3 separate regions of the Homo sapiens genome follow, and all the other regions are linked to region 1. The links are contacts of gene promoters, found by promoter capture Hi-C in human tissues and cell types (Jung and others, 2019). All regions are on one chromosome and are shown on one strand. Each heading gives the region's core, a stretch centred on a gene start or on the middle of the fragment in contact. The rest is flanking DNA. Distances are from core to core; before and after follow the strand shown.

The links. The method cuts DNA at HindIII sites, captures the fragments that hold promoters and counts their contacts. A contact is called where the count stands out against the background at its distance.
Region 2: a fragment that was not itself captured here is called in contact with the fragment with the promoter of NRG3 in region 1 in 1 of the 25 tissues and cell types used here (dorsolateral prefrontal cortex).
Region 3: a contact is called between a fragment that was not itself captured here and the fragment with the promoter of NRG3 in region 1, in 1 of the 25 tissues and cell types used here (hippocampus).

Annotation. Positions count from the first base shown.
Region 1 is chr10:81,873,333-81,877,217 of GRCh38, forward strand. NRG3 (neuregulin 3) reads left to right here and starts at 1,862. Exons shown (of 9, transcript NM_001010848.4): 1 at 1,862-2,831. The coding sequence starts at 2,009. It overlaps LOC124902549 (a long non-coding RNA gene), which reads right to left and starts at 1,186. Exons shown (of 2, transcript XR_007062377.1): 1 at 1,017-1,186; 2 at 40-169. RefSeq lists an enhancer at 2,811-3,573. The HindIII fragment of the contact is 10,350 bases long and covers 1-3,885 here.
Region 2 is chr10:82,879,255-82,883,582 of GRCh38, forward strand. The region is part of intron 4 of NRG3 (neuregulin 3); the gene reads left to right. Among named protein-coding and RNA genes, the nearest start is that of NRG3-AS1, 650 kb to the left of the region's middle. The HindIII fragment of the contact is 3,031 bases long and covers 774-3,804 here.
Region 3 is chr10:82,923,228-82,927,114 of GRCh38, forward strand. The region is part of intron 4 of NRG3 (neuregulin 3); the gene reads left to right. Among named protein-coding and RNA genes, the nearest start is that of NRG3-AS1, 690 kb to the left of the region's middle. The HindIII fragment of the contact is 5,311 bases long and covers 1-3,887 here.

The DNA.
Region 1 (3,885 bases), core at 612-3,111:
TCTCAATGTTATAGCTGAAAGAGGTGACAGCCGCATTACTGCCATCAAAAATAATTTATTAACCTTGTCTGTGCAAAGTACTCTGGTAGGCACCAAACCCCAGGGGCTTCCTGTTTCAATGCATCCTCTGCTCTCTGCAGTCTCTTCAGTGTAACGTTTGGCTCTCCCCCTGTGAATAAAATGGATACCTTGAAAACTTCATCTTTGTGGAGACTATCACAGGACAAGAGAATGCGGGCTCCATCATCCACGCCAATCAGACAGTGCTGGGGGAATGTATTAGAAAGTTGCCTTTCTCAACCTCATATTCTTAACGCTTGTAAATAAAAACCCCTCCTCTTCGGTTTTCACTTTAGACCAGGAAATCTGGGGAGAGTTGGCAAGCAAGGTTTTGCACTGTCGGCATATGTCATGCTAACACTGGCTCTTTGCCCCTTGCCTCGGCAGGTACCACACAGCGCTGGAGAAATAGGTACACAGGTGCCTCCCCAGCCAAGGGAAGAAAGCAGTAACGGAATTTGGGAGTCCAACCCCAAATCCTTTCATATTTACCTCTCACAAACACTTGCCTTGTAACGTGTGTACCTGTGCGTACATTTACAGGTAAAGACAATATTTTAAGGCAAGTTCACATAAATGGCTTGGAGATATCTGACAGGTCTGATTATACAAAGGTCTTCTGCTCCACCTGCATCTCTCAGGAACTCAGGCAAAGGTGGCCTTCCATCCAGCCGCACCGCCATCCGGCAGGGGAGGGCACAGGCACCCTCCCACCCGCATCCGCCCCCGCCCCCTCGCCCAGCAGCGTCAGTCTCTGACCCCACTGGATCCGTACAGGAGACGACTCACAATCGGTCGGAAGCTGCTTTTGCCCCCCCACCCCACCGCAAACGGGGGTTTGCTTGGATCATTTATCTATCTTGTGTGCATTAAGAAACCAGCATTAGCTGCTAGTGGGAGGCGCTACTCTGCCCGAATCCCAGCCCGCCGCGGCGATTCTGCACACACACACGCACCAGCCTGGCAGCCAGAGCCCGTCTGGAGACGCCCTCAGCCCGGGGTCTGCGTTCCCCGGGACCCCCGACGCAGTCTCCCGCTTCCGTCCCCCACGCTCAACCGGGCAGGGCGCCGGGGCGTGATTTCCGATCCTCTGCCTGCTTGTTGGGTCCCTCGGAGGCGGGTCAGACCGCACCCGCCGCGGGCGCCCGGTGCGCCCCCAGCCCCTGGCTCGCGGCGGCGACAGCGGCGCTGTTCGCTGGAGTTTGACTCTCCGGCGGCGGCGGCAGCGGCGCGCAGCAGCGAACGGCTGGAGCAAGGCGAGCCGGGCCGCTAGCCCTCCGCGCTGCGCTGGGATTGGTCTCTCCAGAAGAGTGCTGGCCGAGGGTTGGCTGCGGGCCGGCTGAAGAACAGGTGCACCTCACCGCCCGGGCTCGCGGAGCAGCCGCCGAAGATCGCGGCGGCCAGGCAGGCCCTCTGTGTCGGAATGCGGGTGGCGGGCACCCGGCACCCCGCGACCGGCCGCCGGGGCCACTGAAGGCGGCGCGAGGCCCAGGCGCGGCGCGAGCGGGCGCCCCAGGGAGCGGGCTGGGCGCGGTGCCCCGAGGATGTCGGCGCTCCTGGAGCGCACGCAGGCGGCGGGCAGCAGCAGCAGCAGCGGGCGCGGGGACCCGGCGCGCAGGAGGCGGCTTGGAGGGCTGCAGACGCGCCCCGCCGCTCTCTGACCGACCGGAGGCGCCGGGGGCCCGTCTCGCCCCTCTTCCGAGCTCCTTACCGCCCCCTCCCCGGCCCCGTCCCCTCCCCCGCTCCTCTCCTCCCCGCCCGCCGCCCGCCTCTCGGGGGGAGGGGCGTGGGGGCAGGGAGCGGATTTGCATGCGGCCGCCGCGGCCGCTGCCTGCGCCCGAGCCCGCCGCCGCCGCCGGAGCCCGCGCCCGCGCCCGCGCCCGGCCCGCGCGGCCCCATGCCTCTGCCGCGGCCCTCGGGGGGGCGAAGGTGAAGACCGGCTCCTAGGATGAGTGAAGGGGCGGCCGCTGCCTCGCCACCTGGTGCCGCTTCGGCAGCCGCCGCCTCGGCCGAGGAGGGCACCGCGGCGGCTGCGGCGGCGGCAGCGGCGGGCGGGGGCCCGGACGGCGGCGGCGAAGGGGCGGCCGAGCCCCCCCGGGAGTTACGCTGTAGCGACTGCATCGTGTGGAACCGGCAGCAGACGTGGCTGTGCGTGGTACCTCTGTTCATCGGCTTCATCGGCCTGGGGCTCAGCCTCATGCTTCTCAAATGGATCGTGGTGGGCTCCGTCAAGGAGTACGTGCCCACCGACCTAGTGGACTCCAAGGGGATGGGCCAGGACCCCTTCTTCCTCTCCAAGCCCAGCTCTTTCCCCAAGGCCATGGAGACCACCACCACTACCACTTCCACCACGTCCCCCGCCACCCCCTCCGCCGGGGGTGCCGCCTCCTCCAGGACGCCCAACCGGATTAGCACTCGCCTGACCACCATCACGCGGGCGCCCACTCGCTTCCCCGGGCACCGGGTGCCCATCCGGGCCAGCCCGCGCTCCACCACAGCACGGAACACTGCGGCCCCTGCGACGGTCCCGTCCACCACGGCCCCGTTCTTCAGTAGCAGCACGCTGGGCTCCCGACCCCCGGTGCCAGGAACTCCAAGTACCCAGGCAATGCCCTCCTGGCCTACTGCGGCATACGCTACCTCCTCCTACCTTCACGATTCTACTCCCTCCTGGACCCTGTCTCCCTTTCAGGATGCTGCCTCCTCTTCTTCCTCTTCTTCCTCCTCCGCTACCACCACCACACCAGAAACTAGCACCAGCCCCAAATTTCGTAAGTAAACACTGTGTCTCAACTATGATTTACTACTGAGTTTCCCTTCTGCCCTCCTGCTGTCTTTTTCCCTCGCCGCCTGTTTTCTAGCAAGCCCCCTCCCCCATCCCAGGTTTGGGGCAGAGTGAGAGCTGATTAAAACTGGCCACCAGCGGGGAAGAAGGTGCCAGCCTGCTCTGGTTCTGGGGGGGTGGGGGCGTGTAGGAACGGGAGGGAGATTGTCAGGCTCCACTGGCCCCACTTTAGCGGGTCCCAAGTGAGAACAGATCTCCCAACTCCCTTCAAAGGGTTAACGCGAGTGCGATCCCTCCTCACTGCAGACCTGCTGGCGAGCTGCCGGATCCCGCTCCAGTAGAGGGCCAGGGAGGGAGAGAGGGCCTTCCCGAAGGCACTGAGCCCCTTCTCCGCCCGCCGGTAGGAAGGAAAGAAAGCAAAGCACATGCAAATTGACCGACGATAAACCACAAAAGGAAGTTATGTCCTTGTGTGGGGTGACGAGTTGATGGAGATAATGGTAGAATGTTGCTGAGGACGCTTCCAGCAGCCCTGACCTGGGCAGGAACCAGAAAGGGTTAATTAGAAGCCACTGGGAGACTTGGGGAAAGGAGGCGATCCAAGGCAAAGGGCTAAACTGACCTCCTAGCCTGCCTGTGGCCATTCCAAGGTGTAGACATAGATTCTGTGACCGCCGAGAGTGAGTTAACTAGGAGGAAATATGAAGGGAGCCCTGCAGAGCTGCCACCTCTAGGGTCCTGACGAAGGAGGAGTTTTTTTCAGCCCTGCCAAGCCTTTGCTTTTGTTCCGTTCCCAAAGGTGGGGTGTGAACCTTATCTCCTCTCCCTCTGTGCCTGAAAAATATAGACGAGTTGAGAGTTTTCTGCACTCAAGGGTGAGAACATCCAACCGTTTGGAAACATGTCACCGTTAGAATGTAGCATCTTCAACCTGGGCTCAGTATGAGCCAGTATACCCAAAGCATGATAGCTTTCTGTTTATTTGTATAGAAAGTGCGTATTTTCTCAACATTTTTATAAATGTTGTAGGTGACTAATTG
Region 2 (4,328 bases), core at 1,039-3,538, 1.0 Mb after region 1:
GGAAATAACACTTTTAAAAATAAATGTAAATAGTATATGTTTTTCTTAACTCTTAAGTTGCTTAAATGTCTAAAACGTATAAGCAAACCCACCCATGAAACACAAGACCATGCAATTTAGTTCTAGATTAATTCTCAATCAGCGATCTTCTTTCTTGAGATTTCCTCTGCTTAAGCAGTAGCATATAAAAAATGGTATTAATCTAATGAAGACTTTTTTTTTTTTTTTTTTTTTTTGAGACGGAGTCTCCCTCTGTCGCCCAGGCTGGAGTGCAGTGGCGCGATCTCGGCTCACTGCAAGCTCCACCTCCCGGCTTCACGCCATTCTCCTGCCTCAGCCTCTGGAGTAGGTGGGACTACAGGCGCCCGCCACCACACCCGGCTAATTTTTTTCGTATTTTTTAGTAGAGATGGGGGTTTCACCGTGTTAGCCAGGATGGTCTCGATCTCCTGACCTCATGATCCGCCCTCCTCGGCCTCCCAAAGTGCTGGGATTACAGGTATAAGCCACCATGCCCGGCCTAATGAAGACTTTTTAAAGTTGAAGTTTCCAGTTCACTTAGTAGTACTGAGGGTTAAAGGTGTTAAATATTAATGTTTCCAACAGGATTGGAACACAGCTTAGGGAAGTCAAGTAAATTTGCTTATCCAGTGAGGTCGCCTGTCTTCATGTTGCATTCACTCTTCTAAGAAGGATTTCATCCCTTTTTTTTTTTTTTTTTTTTTTTGCATGAGAATTGAAGCAGAAGCTTGTGCTGTATTGAAAGTATATTGAATATGGGCTCCGTTTATTGATGAAGCTTTCAAGCACTCACCAGTTAGGAGGCATAGAGGAAAGAGAATGAATGTTCACTATTATATAAGTTATGGGCATGGTAGGTGACTTCACAGGAGTTATCACATTTTGTCTTTTGAAGTTACCAGGGATCTTAAATATGTGATGTATGAAATCGCCATAACCTGAGTGACCTAATCTTTGGTTTGGGGAAAACTGCTCCTGTCTTCATTTTAGTATCCTTGGGAATACCAGATTTGGGGAGCTACCTAGTATGTATTCAAGAAAGCTGTCCATATTTAGAGTGCGCACGAGTGAGACTGCCATTCGTGGAAGAGAAAGACATAGAGCTTCAGGGCACAGAAAGTTAGTCTTTTAAAAAAGCCTCTTAAGGGAATTTTTTTCCACTATATATGTGAAGAAATAAGGCTGATGAAAGTAAAAGTAATATGCCCAACTGATAAATAGTAAAGATGAATAATAATCCAGATCAAAATGTCTCTAAAGCTTGAACTATTCCCATAATCCTTCCCTAGGAGCATAATATAAAATGGTGTGTTTTCTCCAAATATGATGATATCCTACTTTGTGCTGGGCTCCAAGCACACTGGGCCAGGGCCATAACTACACTCAACTAGGCCCTCAGCTGTAGAAGGTATATCATGGGTAGGCTGGCCAGATTTAGTCAATAAAAATGCAGGACACCCACATAAATTTAAATTTCAGAGATGTAACAAATACTTTTTTAGGCTAGATATGTTTTGTGTATTGCATGAGGTGTATCTATAAACATCGTATTTGTTGTTTACTTGTAAAGCCATTTTTGAGTATTTTATCTGGCAACCCCTGCTGTAGGGCCATGAGCACAGTAAGGAGTGGCTCCCCAGTGACCCACTTCTATCTCACACTCCAGTTCCCAGGAAGGCTGAATTAGAGTTAATATGAGCAGTGCAGGAAGATAAGCAGAATTAATGAGGAAACTTAGCAAAAGGGGTTGGAATAAGAGTGTGCTTTGTGTCCCAAGGGACAGCTCTGCTTGTTACACGATGAGAATTATGCACAAAATACTAAACTGTTCCCAAATTACCTCAGCAACTATGGTTGTTTAACAAGGCAAACACAACCTGCAAGCTCATTGGTTCTGGGCAGGATGGATCCTGCTGTCAGAGCAACTGATGAACTATTTTAAAGCCAAGTTCCTATTGTGAGTGAAATAGATTAACACTTCAGATATGGATGCTTCAAAAAACAAATAGCAGCATGCTAACTTAGTTAATGAGTTTTTGAGGAAGAAAGTAGCATTTAACTTACCAAAAGATGCAGTTCAAGGCTATATTAATGAAGTAATAACAGCTGTGTCTTTATCTGTTCACTACCCATTCATTTTCTCATTACATTCAGACTGCTAACTTCAGTCACAAACATGCTTGTATGAGAATATGGGGCCTTTTGTTCCTACCAGAAAATAATCAAGATGTCTATCTTCTAGAGTTGTACTGTATCATAGAAGTGATTCAATGATTCTGCTTTTCTATTTCTGTGAGAAAAAGGCATGCTATGGGATTCAAGCACTGTAATAAACACACACACACACTGAAGCCAGGTGGACATTTATCAAATTTTGACTTCATCTCCTATATGCTGTGAGACATGGGCTATCTGCCTAGCTATATATCTATGTATTTATGTATGTGTGTATGTATCTATCTATATCAATGTCCACCGCTGATGGTTCATTAATATAAAGATTGATGATGTAACACCCCACATATGCATTTCTTGACATACAGGCATTCAAACTATGTTTTTCCTTTCTTCATTTCCTAATGTGCTACACTGTGTTTTCCTGGTTTACTGAGTATGCCTGTGTGTCCAGAAACCCTCAAGGACAGAGCTGTGTGCTTTAGGAGTCTTCCTCGTTTTTGCCCCTGGAACAGTGCCAAATACTATAGAATTTTAGTTGCATCTTGCCACACCACCTGGCTAACCTCATCTCATCTACTCATGCCTTTCTCAACCATTCAGAAGCACGTTCTCTTCTTTTAACACGCCGTGATTGTCCATGCCCGTCTTTTCTGCATGTGATTTCTATGTGCCATGACACTTAAGACTTACCACCCTTTCCTAATACATCGTTCATGCAGATCTGCATTCTTAGTGTATAAGGCGCTTATGTGTTCTACTGTAACTTTGCTAGATTATGGTGTCACCATGGTTTATGTCTGTCTTACCCCAAAATATTGTGAAAGACACAAACGACATTATCTCATTCCAGTCTCAGCTGGAATTTCAAATCCCATTGTCTAAATCAAATCCAGGTGAAGATGAGGCTCTTCACATGTAGTTCCTTAAGCTTTGGCAACATGAGTAGAGTTTTCTTGACGGTAGATGTGTTAACTAAAGAGACAATTATCTGTCCCACATACACCTAACATGCAATGGCAGACAAGCAAACAACATTATAGACATTTCTGCTCAAAAAGGATGGTGGAGGGAATGGAAGGCACTGTCCAGTGGAAGAATCGCTGGTCCATAGCAATAATGTCACCAAATAAGGCAAATGTTGTAAGTTCCTTGTTTAGGTCTCAAAAGTGATATCACACCACTTTTGCCATATCTTATTTGTCAGGAGTTAGTGGGTCAATCTCACATTATAAGGAGATGGGGTCCTTGAGGGCATCTTAGAGATTGTCTACCACACAGTTTCCCAGAGCCTTTGGCTAGTTTGTGTAGGACTTCCATATGCCACAAAGGCCTGTGTCACACATTCTTTTGTGTTATCTTCTCAATACTGCCTGTTTAAGGTGGGTAACAGTTACTACCAACAACTAGGACCCCAGGAAAAGCTCAGGTTTAAATACCTGACAAACCAATGATTACATTAGCTGCCAGTGGATACCTCTGTGTGGGTGATTAAGACTATTATTCACCTGTAAAATATTCATACCTCTCTCACAGGAATGTGGTTAGCATAAAACAAAATAATCTATTTGGAAGAAAACAAGCATACCCTTTCTCTAAAAATATTTACTTTTATAAGTTTATGATGCTCTCAATGTGTAGAAGACATCGTTTCAAATGTAGTTACATAATATGTTGATGTATGCGGAATGTGCTATATAAGAAGGCATGCCTTTTTTTCTTGGAAAATTATATTGTCATAAAAAGTCATGTTTTTGTTATTAAAATCAAACACTATGTATTTACAGGTCTTTTTTTGCAACAATTGCCCAATCAAATTCTTATTTCTGTGAATAAATGATATATTATTATTAATTATACATTTAGAAGAAGCCTCGGAGATCAGCAAGTTGAACCTGTCCCTTTTAGCTGATCAGTCTGTATATAGAGTTGAAATCTGTCTGTCTGTATAGCACAATGTCATGAAGTCATAGATTCCTGGAATTTAATCTTTGCTCTTTTAATTACTAGAATTTGGGTACATTAATTTTCCTGAGTCTCAGTATTCTTGTCTGTAAGACAGGGCTAATAATAGTACAGTGTATATTCTAACAACTCTTGTAATTGTTGAAAAGAATTTCCCTAGTCAACTT
Region 3 (3,887 bases), core at 858-3,357, 1.1 Mb after region 1:
TCTACAGATGCTGTTTGCTGTGTCTGAAACATCCTACTGTTCCTCTCTCCACTTACCAACTAAGCTTTCATCTTTCATCCTCCACCTAATCTCTACTCTCCTTTCAGGATCATCAGAGGTATTACCTCTTACAAATATCTTTCCCTGCCTTCCAAATCCTGTCTCCAAAGCCTGGATTATGTACTTATTATAGGTTCCCACATTGCACTCAGTACATTGTCTCCACCCTCTACTAGCTTGGAAAAATCTGCGAGAGCAAGAAGTATGTCTGTTCATGTTAGAGTTACCTCTAATGCCTGACTTGATACCTGACAACATAGTGTTGCTCAATCAATAATTGTAAATACCTGAATTATTAATGCATGAATAAATAAATGATTTGGTAAATATACAAATGTATGTATTAAAAACAGGAGAGAAAGAAATGGAAATATTTGTATAACCAGAACATCAGGCAATTAGCATTAGGAAAGCTTTTTTTTTCTTGTTTAAGTAGGTTAAAACAGGCCTTAAAAGACAAAAAATCGTGGAACATTAAGATCTCTCTCCTTTCCCCCCTCCTCCTTCTACCTGTGTGTGTGTGTGCACGCATATGTGCACTTGTTAAAGGTAGAGAGAGGGCCGGGCACAGAGGTCAGGTGGGCGGGTTGCTTGAGGTTAGGAGTTCAAGACCAGCCTGGCCAACATGGTGAAACCCCATCTCTACTAAAAAATACAAAAATTAGCTGGGCATGGTGGCAGGCACCTGTCATCCCAGCTACTCAGGAGGCTGAGACACGAGAATTGCTTGAAGCCAGGAGGCAGTGAGCCGAGATCATGCCAGTGTACTCCAGCCTGGGCAACATAGCGAGACTGTCTCAAAAAAAAAAAAAAAAAAAAAAAGGTAGAAAGAGATGGTGAGAGAAAATTGTTGGCAAGATTCCAGTTTCTTTCCACTAGAAGGCAGAAAGCACTAAACAAATGTCAAGGCAGGGACCTAGGTTTCCAGAACCCAAAAGGAGCATTGGGAGTTTGTCACTGAGACCTCAGAGGCAGAGCCCAAGACCAGAACCGAACTATTACTATGCGGACTTGATGTTCAATGAATCAATCGCCTAAGTATCCCTAAATGCTCCACTACCCTGTGCCTCTCTACAAACCCCATTATAATTCATTCCCAAGCCATGATCAGAATTGGCTCATCAGTTTGTGCGGTGGTAATGAGGAAGGGGTAGGAAGTTGGGATTCAGTGGGTCTACCATAAGGCAGAAGAGGAAGCAAATCAGACACATTCCAATGATATTATCTGTTTGGTTTTGCCCATATCTGATTTTCGAAGTCTTCTATGTACTGAAATCAAATATCTCACATTAAAAAAAAAAAAAAGCTTTTAAAGATTGTAGGTTGACACAGCATAGAATATCCCTTCCTTCTTCTAGACCAGTAGCATTCAAAGCTACCTGGTAGTGTAATTAAGATTTTACATATTTCAAGCTTCTTCACTGTAACTCACAGCAGCTTGGAAGGTAGGAGTAAGCTTCATGACAATGATCCTCTGCATTTTGATGGGTACAAGCTGTTCTTTGATATCATGGACACCCCAGCTTTTCAAAAGAAGATTCTTGGCTGTTTAGCAGTTCAGCCAATCCATGTAATTGCTTTTTCCATGTTACATAAGAGTAAAAGTCTCCTATAATTATAGGGATAAAAGAGACTTGATACTTTCCAGATCACCAGAGCAGGAAGAAAGAAGAAAAGCATGACTTTTTGGAGTGATTACTCATCACATGCCAGACACAATGCTGAAAACTTTGTATCCATCATATTTTTATGCCACGAAAACCCTGTACAGAAGACATAAGCACCCCCATTTTACAGATGAGGGCCCTGAGACTAGGGGAAGACAAAGAATTCCTCAAAGTTAGTTTACTTAGTACAAATTAGAATTGGTCTTTAAACTGACTCCAAGGAGGATGGCCTTTTTTACTCTACCACATCCCCTCTCCAACACTATTGGTTTGATTTTCTGTTACAGAAGTACAGGAAGACAGTGTTTCTTTTCTAGCTATGCAACAATGACATGTGGTGGTTGAAAGCATGGCCTCTGGAGCCAGACTGCCTGTGACCATTTACTTTTTCTTGAACTTGAACTTATACTTTAGTTTCTCTGTGCCCTAATCTTCTCAAGTGCAACTGGGGTTAATAATGGTCCCAGCACTGTTGAAAGGACTAAATGACTTTGCACCTATAAAGAGCTTTGTATTTTAAGTGCTCCATAAATATTCATGTTGTAGTTGTCATTGCTATTGTTGTTGTCTGTGAGGCCTTTTCACAGAGGCATGGCCTCGCAGAATAGGGACAAGCATGCTTTAATGCTACTCCTGTCTTCTTAATTCCCAGTAGCAGAAAAACTGGAAGACTCCTTTGCCAAGGGTTATTATTTTTTAATCAATCTACGTAGGGTTTATACATAGATGATGACAGAGAGAGGTAGGTACAGTTATTTATAGCCTGTGAGTCATTATGAAAAGTCACTCTTTCTTTGCTTGGTCAGAGCAGTGAGAATACATATATCTGCAACTCCATGTGTGTAGAACTAGCAGCTTAAACTGGAAAGATGACCTATTGCCTTAGTCTTTCCCAGAGAGAGGCTTGCCCTACACCCCCTTTTGCAGCCTGCCCAGGCTAATGCAACTAGCGATGGCAAGGCAAGCAGGGCAGGCTGCCATGCATTTTAGGGGATTTGAGCAGTCAGGCAGATCATTCAGGGAGAGATTGTTTTAAAGGTTTAGCTAAAAGCCATTTATCCACCTCATTTCAAGCACAGTATTGGCTCCAAAGTACAGTTGGTCCTCCATATCCATGGGTTCTGCATCCATGGATTCAACCAACTATGGATAGAAAATATTTGGAAAAGAAAACTCCACCAAGTTCCAAAAAACGAAACTTGAATTTGCCATATGCCAAATATATCAAATCCACGCTAATGAAGTGATGTGTAGGCATTGTATTAGGTATTATAAGTAATTCAGGAATGATTGAAAGTATATAGGAGGATATGTGTAGGCTATAGGCAAATAACACACCTTGTTGTATAAGAGACTTTAGTAGCCTTCAAGTTTGGTATCTACAGGGGATCCTGGAATCAATCCCCAAGCATATCCAGGGACAACTGTGCTATATTGTGATGAAGTTCCACCACTTAGCTTTATAGCTGAGGACTACAAGCTCCAATTATCTTAGGGAATATTCTGGTGACCAAATAAATAAAAACTTTCTAAAAAGTGATAGTCACTTGAGCATCCAAGAAGTATCTATCACATCCTTAAGTCATTCCATTTTCCTTTATATCTCTCTGGGTGAGCCATCTTGTCCTGAATACAATTTGTAATGCCGGGTAATTACTTCCTGACAGAAATTTCTTCCCATTTCATTCTCTGTGTGTTAAGCTCATTTGATTACAACAAACAAAACAAAATTCAGGGACATTGATTAATGCAATAAGAGCAAAATAAGTAATTAAAATTAACAAGTTTCTAACTTTGAGGCCTGGCCTCTCTCACAGAGTCTGTGGCAATATTAAAGTGTGATTCTAGCAGAATAAAAACAGTTCTTGTCTCCTGAAATGTGAATAATCCTCAGTAGATCTGCCTTTGGATTGGACATCCATTGAACATGTCTCAACTGCACTGTGTCTCTTTGTCTTTATTTTCTTTATCTTTGGGTCATTCCCCCAATTCTAACTGACCTTTGTTATCCTTCTGGTCTCCAGTTTAGTTTTCTGGGAAGGGCTCTCCCTGGCTCAGTTCCTCAGCACCATCACTACTTGAGCAGAGCTTTTCCACCTGAAGTGCTCAAAGGACTGCCCATCTGTCCTTGCTCAGGGACCCCCAACACGGACTGCAAGG